3 separate regions of the Homo sapiens genome follow, and regions 2 and 3 are each linked to region 1. The links are contacts of gene promoters, found by promoter capture Hi-C in blood cells and fetal thymus (Javierre and others, 2016). All regions are on one chromosome and are shown on one strand. The core of a region is centred on a gene start or on the middle of the fragment in contact, and the rest is flanking DNA. Distances in the headings are between cores, read along the strand shown. Region 1 holds the start of ASB14 (ankyrin repeat and SOCS box containing 14). Region 2 overlaps DNAH12 (dynein axonemal heavy chain 12). Region 3 overlaps IL17RD (interleukin 17 receptor D).

Region 1 (3,317 bases), core at 347-2,846:
CGCTTGAACCTGGGAGGCAGAGGTTGCAGTGAGCCGAGATTGTGCCACTGTACTCCAGCCTAGGTGACAGAGTGAGACTCAGTCTCCAAAAAAAAAAAAAAAAAGAAAAGAAAAGAAATACTTGCCTTGTTTCACAACCGTAATACTATATGTACTGTAAAAAAATATATATGCTGTAAAACCTTCATATATCACAATTATGATCTTAGATTTAGTTCTGGCCATTTTATTACAAGATAAATAGTTCTTTTCGTACCAATGGCTGTTTTTCCCTTTATCAAGTGAATATATTTCTTTTTTTTTTTCAAGCTCAAAAATCTCGGATTATAAAGTCGGATGCCTATGTCTGTCCCCTCTACAAGACAAGTGAACGTAAAGGAACTCTTTCCACTACGGGACATTCTACTAACTTTGTCATTGCAATGTTGTTAAAAACAGACCAACCTACTCGGCACTGGATCAAGCGCGGGGTTGCTTTGCTTTGTCAGTTGGATGACTAAATTGGACAAATTTATAAAACATCCAAAAGTTTAAAAAAAAAAAAACCTGTCCTACTTAAAATATATACATTATAAAACCAAGTGTTTTGGTGTTATTCTTTTAAATGATCTTTGCAAACACTCATTGCATTGTTCTCCTTTCTGAGGAGAACTTTTTGAAGTTTGATTGTATGTGAAAAATAGATTTGGGGGTTAAACGGTAACATTTAACAAATATCAGGAATTATCTCCTTCACAAATGTTAAGTCATTCCTTCAGCTTCAGTATAGTTTACTTTCCACTCTCCTACCTAAAGTAATTATACATAAATATTTCAAATACATAAATTAAGAAATTATAAATATGGAAAATATTAAAAGTTACCCAACTATACCTCTTTATTTCTTACCTCTAAGACATCGGTTCCATTTCTCACTGCATCCTTGTGACTAGGAAAGGAAACTCAAAGCTGCGAAGTTGGCCTGCAAAGGCAGTAGGATGGCTTGAGGGCAGTCCGAACTTCTACACCTGCAGTGACAGTGTGCTTCTCGGCATTTGCTTCATATTTAATTTGAAATGTCAAGTGGTCCCTTTGCTTTTTTTAGTGTATATTAACAATTTAAAAATATTTCAACAAAACAGAATTTTGATCAAAATTTTATCTTGTGTAGAGTGAATTCTTCCCTTAGGATTCCAAGGACACTGAAGGCCACAGTTCTGTAACCCAAGGAAAATGTAGTCACAGCTACCTAGTGAATCTAGTACATTGGGACAGTCACTTTGGATAATTGGGTCAGAGCAAAATGTTTGGGTTCTCTTAAGTGAAAAATTGATTGTGGTTTGCAGTGGCTATGTGCATGAATTCTCTTTGCATGGCCAACCCCCTGCAAAAGCATTTTATTCCAGGAATAAAATATTTAATCCTTTAAATTTGATGAATGTAGCACTGAAGAAAAGAGATCATGTTTCCAAAAAGAGCTAAACCACATGTAAAAAACAAGGAGAATGTGCCAAACTGTCTTATGATGAAGTATTTATAGTAAAGCTATTAATGGAATGGTCACTACAGGGGAGAGGAGAGCCTAAATATAAATGAAAATTCTGAGGCTTACATGTGTTAGTCCTTAACAGTGAAAACTTCACTGCTGTCCTAGAGGATAAAACAAAAGGTAAAAAGTCTTTGAAATGTGACCAAATGTATTCTATGCTAAAACTGACATTTTTCTTTTAAAACCATTTAGATATTGCCTAGTAAGATACATTTGTTTTTACTACTGCTGTATCCATGTTGTAATTATGAGAATACATTTGTTCCTATAACATGTTTATTTTTAATGTATATTAAGTAAAATATTATTTTCAGCATCACACTGTGTGTAGGAAAGATATTATTTTGGATGAGTGCTACAATCACTGTGAAAGACTCACAGCCAAGTTGAACAGATCAGAGTGTTGTCAGTGTTAGAGTGGCACTAACCGAAGTCTTATTTGAAAGGTGGTTTTTCCTGAATAAGCTTTAAGTCAATGGCTACTCATGGAAACTTCTAATTTTTGTTGAATCTGTGGCAGTCCACAAAACTTTTTTAAGTTTATAGAAATTTTTTAGTGAATATTTTGTTTCCTAAATTTTGTATATTTTTCATTGTTAATCCTACCAATTTTCTAGATTTCTGAATTTCATTTGTAATTTTAAGCAGTTGATCTCTTCACAACTGGAAAAATACTTTTAATTCACTCTGACTTTAAAGTAAACCTGTCCACGTTTCACATGGATAATTACACCAGCGATGAAGACATAGATGAAGACTTTGACACCCAGCTCATCATTCAACAGAGTTTGCAGGATATTTATAAGCCAGGAACAGCACAACATGCACCTAAGGATGAGAGGTAATGGTTTTCTCATCGGCAATATAGTATTAAGTGTTGTATTCAACAGCTGACACTTGTCATTAGCTTAACTCTAGTGTTGTGACAAAAACAGGAGGGTCAGAATCCAAGGAGCTGTCAATTAAATATCTGTAAGATATTATGCCTAACTAGACAGGAATAATCTGGAAATAATTCAGAATTTAATTAGGCAATAAAAATATCTGAAGGAGGTTAGCAGCAAATCTGGGTGAGGTGATACAGACTGGAAATCAGAAGAAAGAAAGGAGGATATGAAGGGCTAGAGAAAAACTAATACATCTTGTCTTTGGGAATTGAAGAAATGCATAAATCCAACCGGGACACATAGAAAGTTAGTTATCTTCAACCTTAGTAGGGTAGGTGGGGATGGGGTCCAGTCTTTGATCTACTCAAATCAAAAGGAGGAATTACATAAACTTGAACAAGGCTTCTGAAAGTGTAGATTCAGAGTTTTGTTGGACAACACTGAAAAAGGACCAGTGGGACCCTGTGTGGGGTGTAAGAAGAATCGTCCTGGATATGGCACACCTGCTCACACGCTCGCTGGCCAATCAGCAACCTTGGTCTCCTGAGGCAGTAACCATCATTTTTTCAGGGGTGATAACCCAGTTTACTTGGGATGGTAATCTCTATTTGCCTGCTGGATGTAAAACTAGAAAAATGTCTTTTAACCCCAAGAGATTTCATAACTAAATAGAGACAATGAAGTACATCAAACCTATATAGTATTTTTAAAATGTAACAAACCATGGAGTGATCACTATGTGTCATGTTATTTTAAGCACTTCATAAATACTAACTTTTAAATTCTAATTCTCATTACCTCTCTATGAGGTAGGTCCTATTATTATCCCTACTTAGAGAGGAGGAAAGTGAGGCACAGAAAAGTTAAGTGGCTTACCCAAGGTCACAGAACTAGTAAGTGAA
Region 2 (3,317 bases), core at 238-2,737, 220 kb before region 1:
TTCAGCTACCTTTCATATATTGATGACTCCCAGAGACTTTTTTGCACAAATACCTCAGAATCAACGTGTCAAAAAAATGAGACCACAAGCTTCCTCCATAAGACTCCTCTTGCACATTTTCTATTCTAGTTGTTATCACCATCAATCCGGTTACTCATGCTTAAAATATCTGAATCTGAACTTCTTGTTCCCCTTCCCCAACTACCTCCCTCCCATATGCTTAGTTCCCAAGAGCTCTATATAGTTCTCAAAACAGTCATTTTCTTGTCCTAGCCTTAGATCAGAGCTTCATCTCTTATCTTGACCACAGCAGCCAACAGCAGCTTTTCTTTCTTTCTTTTCTTTTCTTTTCTTTTTTTTGAGACAGAGTAGTCTTGCTCTGTCACCCAGGCTGGAATCCAGTGGGGCAACCTAAGCTCACTGCACCCTCCACCTCCCGGCTTCAAGCAATTCTTGTGCCTCAGGCTCCCAAATAGCTGGGATTACAGGCACATGCCACCATGCCTGGCTAATTTTTTATATTTTTAGTAGAGACAGGGTTTCACCATGTTGGCCAAGCTGGTCTCAAACTCCTGACCTCCAGTGATCCACCTGCTTCAGCTTCCCAAAGTGCTGGGGTTACAGGTGTGAGCCACCGTGCCCGGCCAGGAATTGCTTCTTAATCAACTACTATGATATCGAGCACTAAAAATAGTTACTTAATGAATGATTGATGAATGAATAAATATAAAAACACATGTTCAGTAAAATGTAACAGCTGTTATAATAGAAGTGTGAAGAGACTACAGTGAGGGCATAATATAGAAAGTTTTTTTTTTTATGTTTTCTGTTTTTTGAGACAGTTTCTCACTCTGTCACCCAGGCTGGTGTGCAGGGGAGTGATCTTGGCTTACTGCAACATCTGCTTTCCAGGCTCAAGCAATCTCTTAGCCTCAGCCTCCCGAGGAGCTGGGACTACAGATGTGAGGCACCACGCTTGGATAATTTTTATTTATTTATTTATTGTAGAGGTGGGGTTTCCCCATGTTGCCCAGACTGGTCTCTCACTCCTGAGCTGAAAGGGATCCACCTGCTTCTACCTCGCAAAGTGCTGGGATTACAGGCATGAGCCACCGTGCTGGGCCAGGGAGTTTTCAAGAAAAATTTTGAAAGTACATCACTTGACTTAGATAGTGTTTTGCTAAGGAAGATTATATACTTTAATTCTAAGGGTCAAACATATTTTTATTTTAGGAGATGAAATGGTTTTAGAAAGGTATAAGTTATAGATACATAATTAGAATAATGAATTTAAATTTCATTTTTTCTTTCTTTTTTTCTGCAACAAAAACCACATTCAATAAATTTCCTTTCACTATATAGTCATATAATAATTTTATTCAAGCTTAGTTTTCTATCTAATATTTCAGTGCTTGACCCTGACCTGCTTTCTAGAACTGCTATAGGTTTGGGGTATTGAGAAAATATCATCTTTGTCTGTATAATTTATTTATTCATGAGATTCTTAACAAATATCTATGCATACTTGATCCTGTGCTAGATGCTGAAGATTGATGGACAAGATGGACATATAAGCCCTTATGAAGCTTATACTTTAATGAGGAAGACATATAATAATTAAATAAAATTTTTCTATTTCATTTAATAAATAAAATTGTGATAAGTACTGTGAAGGAAATACAGGGTAATATGGTAGATAGTGACTGGTGAGGGAGTGGGGCCATATTAGGCATGTGGTTAGAGAAGGCGTCCCTGAGGTGGTGACATTTATGGAGACCTGAATGGTAGAAAGGAGCCAGCCGTGGAAAGACCTGGGGTTGAGAATTTCCCAACAGAGGGAACAGCTAAGTTTAAGTCACCTGAAGGAGAAAACAACTGGGTATGTTCCAGGAACTGAAAGAAGGCCAGCTGCTGATTGAGCTCATGGGAAAGTATAAAATAAACTTGAAAAGGGGGTCAGGAGCCAGAGATGAGGGCCTTGTAGGCTATGATAAGTTGCTTGGATTTTACTCAGAGTGGCAATTGGAAGTCATTGGAGGATTCTACCCATGGGGATAACATAACTTGATTTACTTTTAATGATAAAAAGTCACTTTGACAATTATATGAAAAAGGCCACTTAGATTCTTTAGAAGATGGATTGTGGCTACGGCAAAAGTATAAAGGAAGAACCAGGTAGTTGTACAAGATAACAGTCTAGGTGAGAGAGAATAGTTTAGACTAGAGTGATAGCAATAGAGCTAGAGAGAAATTGTTAGATTCAGGACATATTTTGGATGTAAATGCGACAGGACTTGCAGGTAGGGTGCATGTGGGCAGTGAGAAAAAGAGGAACCAAGGATGATTCTTAGGCTTTGGTCTGATTTTGCAGGGTAATTGGCGACACTTATTATTAAGATCATCTAGAGAGGAGGGAAGAGCTGGAGTAGGGAGAGGACCAATTTCATTGCTAGACAGAGGTCAGCCCATTGATATAGTGAGGGACTGGGGACTATCACACAAGAATTTTAAGATTAGGCAGTACATGGGCCGGGCATGGTGGCTCATGCCTGTAATCCCAGCACTTTGGGAGGCCGAGTCGGATGGATCACAAGGTCAGGAGTTCGAGACCAGCCTGACCAACATGGTGAAACCCCATCTCTACTAAAAAGAAAAAAATTAGCCGGGCATGGTGGCCCACGCCTGTAATCCCAGCTACTCAGGAGGCTGAGGCAGGAACATCACTTGAACCCAAGAGGTGGAGGTTTCAGTGAGTCAAGATCATGCCATTGCACTCCAGCCTGGGCGACGGAGGGAGACTCCATCTGAAGAAAAAAAAAAAAAAAAAAAAAAAAAGACTAAGCAGTACATTAATGGAGTGGACATAGAAAATGTCTTTCTGTAAGAATTTTGGAGTGAGCAACTAATTGAAAAAAAATAAAAGTAAGAGACAAAAGAAAAAATGTCCATCTAGGCTACACATTTAAAAAATCTTTTTATCTCAAAATAATTTTAGACATACGGAAAAGTTGCAAAAAAGAGTACAAAGAATTCCCCTGTATGCTTTATGTGTTCCCATAATGTTAACATCTTTGCCTGTAACAATGATTACTATGGTTGTTGCCAAATAGTAATTTTTCTATCATTTCTTTTACATTTTTTGTTGGAATTCTGTAGTAAGAAAGAACTTTTAATATTTTTCTTCGCTTATTCATTCATTTAGATCAGTGTGGACTATAGATTTTTACTTTAACTATTAAGTTATAATGTATTATTATTATTAATAATAATTATTTTGTAGAGATGGGGTTTTGCTCTGTCGCCCAGGCTGGAGAGCA
Region 3 (3,317 bases), core at 410-2,909, 170 kb after region 1:
ACATCTCCATAGTCCCTTTTGCTCTGTAAAATAGCATACTCACAGGTTCTGGGAACTAGAATGTGGACACGTTTAAGGGGCTATCATTCTACCTATCCTGAGGTGTAAGGAAAATAGAAGTGCACCATGGGCTAGCCTGGGATACCATTGCTAAGGTGGTTTCTGAGGGCTCTAGAGCAGCTGAAGTATTATTTGGGCGTTGAGCTAAGGACAGCCTTATAGAGCATCTGTGATGCATGTGCTGAGAAGCTGTGCACTTGAGGAATTCCAGGAATGAAAGGTTTTTGTTTGTTTGTTTGTTTGAGATGGAGTTTTGTTCTTGTCACCCAGGATGGAGTACGATGGCGCGATCTCGGCTCACTGCAACCTCCGCCTCCCGGGTTCAAGCGATTCTCCCGCCTCAGCCTCCCAAGTAGCTGGGATTACAGGTGCCCGCCATTACACCCAGTTAATTTTTTGTATTTTTAGTAGAGATGGGGTTTCACCATGTTGGTCAGGCTGGTCTCAAACTCCTGACTTCAGGTGATCCACCTGCCTCGGCCTCCCAAAGTGCTGAGATTACAGGTGTGAGCCACCACGCGCAGCCAAAAGGTCTTTAAAATGCATGTAAGAACTAATACCTGGGATGTTTTCTCCTGCTTCTGAGCTCCATGACCCGGCGTGGATGGCCACGGGGTCTTATGATCTCTGATTTTCTGTGGAATTGGAACTACCATTTTGCATCTACATCCCTAAAAGTGCCATGCTACTCAAATTGTGGGAATGAATTACCATGTTCCCCTCAAGTGAGTAGCAGTCAGACCGATGTGTCAGGAACACACAGTGTGATGCGGCAAGCAGCCCACCAGGGGAGGGGACCTGGGTGATAGGAAGAGAAGAGGAGGGGATTCTGAGAATGCAGGCATGCCCAAGGACATTTTCCGAGCAGAACTGCAGTGCCCAAAGGGTTTAGAAGGTGCAAGAGGGAGTGACTGGGAAGGTAGGCAGGTGTCACATCAGGAATGATCTGGAGGGACAGGGAGCCAGTGAAGGGCTCAAAGCAGGGGAGCGAGGGCAGATATGCACGTGGCCAGAGCCCCTTGAGGTCAAGACCTGGGTCTGCTTCATAGCTGAGTGCCCAGCCTTGTGAGTCTTAGGCCAAGGTGGAATGCTCAGCAGAGAGTGAATGGATGCCACAGGTAAGCTTCACTTTCCTTCCAGGCCTGCCTCACTGGACCCCCCTCTGAACAGTTCCACACACATCACAGAGACTTTATTTGGAGGGATTTAGGTTCTTGAATGCATGGCATAGCACACCTCACTGTCTTGGGCTCCTTTCCACAATGCATTGGCCATTGCCCAATAAGTACCTGCAAATAACATGTTGCAATAGGAATAAGAGGAAACAAACAAACAAATATAAGGGAACTGGAACAAAAAAAAAAGCTACATCTGACAAGTAAGGTGATTGGTCGCCAGGGTCCCTATGCACTAGGGAGCATATTGTTAGATGGAATGTGTTTCCTTTTTGCGAAGTCCCTCCTGTACCCGGCTTCATTTGATCTTCCTCAAAACCACCTCCTAGAGGAAAGCCATGTAAATTCTTTAAAAAAAAAAAAAAAAAAAAAGACAGTTGAGGAGACCCAGACCCAGTGGTGTAGAGCAGCGGTCCCCAACCTTTTTAGCACCAGGGACTAGTTTCGTGGAAGACAATTTTTCCATGCACTGGGGGGTCAGTAGGGGATGGTTTCGGGATCAGACTGTTCCACCTCAGATCATCAGGCATTAGTTAGATTCTCATAAGGAGCACAGAGCCTAGATCCCTCGTATGCACAGTTCACAATAGGGTTTGTGCTCCTATAAGAATCCAGTGCCACTGCTGATCTGACAGGAGTCGGAGCTCAGGTGGTAATGCTCTCCCACTGCCCACCTGCTGCGCGGCCTGGCTCCTAACAGGCCATGGACCAGGACCAGTCCAGGGCCCGGGGGTTGGGGACCCCTAGAGTAGAGTGGTTTGCCATCGGGCATCCGGTGGAGGATGGGAGGATTGAGGTACTAACCTTGGCTTCTAGATTATAGTTTTCTTTTCCTCCCATGATGTTACTCTGCTTTCCTCTTCATTCTAGCCCAGTTATCCTTCTCCTTGTTAAGCTTCTGGAATCTGTTATCTTACCCATCCTTCATTCATCCTTACTCAAGGGCTGTCTTGTGGCATTTCATACACTGTACTTACTTATGCCAGGCTCTTTCACCCTTGCTATATATACCTTGTTTTGCCATCTAAACTGGGCATTCTTGGAGGGCCAGGGTGTGATTTGAAATTTATCTGCATGCCTAGGACATAATCTACCTACCCAGTTAATCTTCTTTGAAATAATGAACCCCATGTTAATTCATTTCATGAGGGCGGGGACAGTGGCTGTTTTGTTTGCCAGCATAGCTAGCATAATGTCTGGCTCCTAATAGATGGGGAGTGAGTTTATGTCTTGGGGGCTTATAAGAGCACAGAACAGTGTGATTTGGGGATCTTGGGCTTTGGTCTTGGGGGATTGGATTGTCTCGTTCCTGGTCTCCTACCTGGTTGTGTTACTGTGGTGTCTGCCATCTGCAGGTTGAGCAGCCTTTAGTTGCACAAACTGTGGTCTTGTCCCTAAGCAGTTGTAGACACTCTTAGGATTTTAATAAGTTCACAACACTTTCCAAAGTGTTTTAGTTCAGGTGAGGAGTTCTGGAATCTTGTATATGTGGGGAAGAGAGGCTAGAAGGAGGAAAGCTGGAGAAGGAAGGTGAACTATGAAGAAGGGGAGCTTCAGTAGATTGTGGGCTGGTGTGTCATGTGGATTTAGGTTTTCTGTTACTTATTCCTCACCTTAGAGTGGGGGGTGGGTGGTGTGTCCATGTGCCCCTCTCTGCCCAATTGTGCTTTCCCAAGGCCCATGTATATCTGAGTTCAGGGATACACTTTCAGTGGGTGTGCCTGGCTTCAGGATAAGCAGCGTGAAGATGCCTGTGGCATATGGATGTCATGTGGTTGTGGCTGAAAACCCTGGGCTCCATCAGAAGTGTTCTCCACATTTTGTTTTGGTGTAACAATTACCCATTAAATGCCAGGCTGCCCGCATATGGTTCCCTCCAACATCCTTCTTGTTGAGTGGAAACTTCAGGTGTGTGGCTGGAATATTTTCCCATCATTTAGCATTTCAGAATTAACATATTTTGGAGAATTCTGTGATTAATGCTGAACGGCACATTTGCAGAGTATTACAGAAACAGTTAAATTGGAGTTGGTAGATCTGTAGCTGCTCTTTCTCATGATGCATAAGTGGTGGAAAAGGCGG

What was found. Contacts are between HindIII fragments. The CHiCAGO score rates a contact against its expected background, and 5 or more counts as called.
Region 2: a contact is called between a fragment that was not itself captured here and the fragment with the promoter of ASB14 in region 1, in 2 of 17 cell types (M1 macrophages and M2 macrophages). The highest score is 8.8, in M1 macrophages.
Region 3: a contact is called between a fragment that was not itself captured here and the fragment with the promoter of ASB14 in region 1, in 1 of 17 cell types (M1 macrophages). The highest score is 5.0, in M1 macrophages.

The regions. Positions count from the first base shown.
Region 1 is chr3:57,290,964-57,294,280 of GRCh38, reverse strand. It overlaps ASB14 (ankyrin repeat and SOCS box containing 14), which reads left to right and starts at 1,596. Exons shown (of 11, transcript NM_001142733.3): 1 at 1,596-1,648; 2 at 2,177-2,369. The coding sequence starts at 2,248. DNAH12 (dynein axonemal heavy chain 12) reads left to right here. Exons shown (of 74, transcript NM_001366028.2): 74 at 310-581. The coding sequence ends at 500. It overlaps LOC124909384 (a long non-coding RNA gene), which reads right to left and starts at 1,490. Exons shown (of 2, transcript XR_007095923.1): 1 at 889-1,490. The HindIII fragment of the contact is 5,614 bases long and covers 1-1,995 here.
Region 2 is chr3:57,515,572-57,518,888 of GRCh38, reverse strand. All of the region lies in intron 4 of DNAH12 (dynein axonemal heavy chain 12), which reads left to right. Among named protein-coding and RNA genes, the nearest start is that of DNAH12, 27 kb to the left of the region's middle. The HindIII fragment of the contact is 202 bases long and covers 1,387-1,588 here.
Region 3 is chr3:57,121,031-57,124,347 of GRCh38, reverse strand. The region is part of intron 1 of IL17RD (interleukin 17 receptor D); the gene reads left to right. Among named protein-coding and RNA genes, the nearest start is that of IL17RD, 43 kb to the left of the region's middle. The HindIII fragment of the contact is 947 bases long and covers 1,186-2,132 here.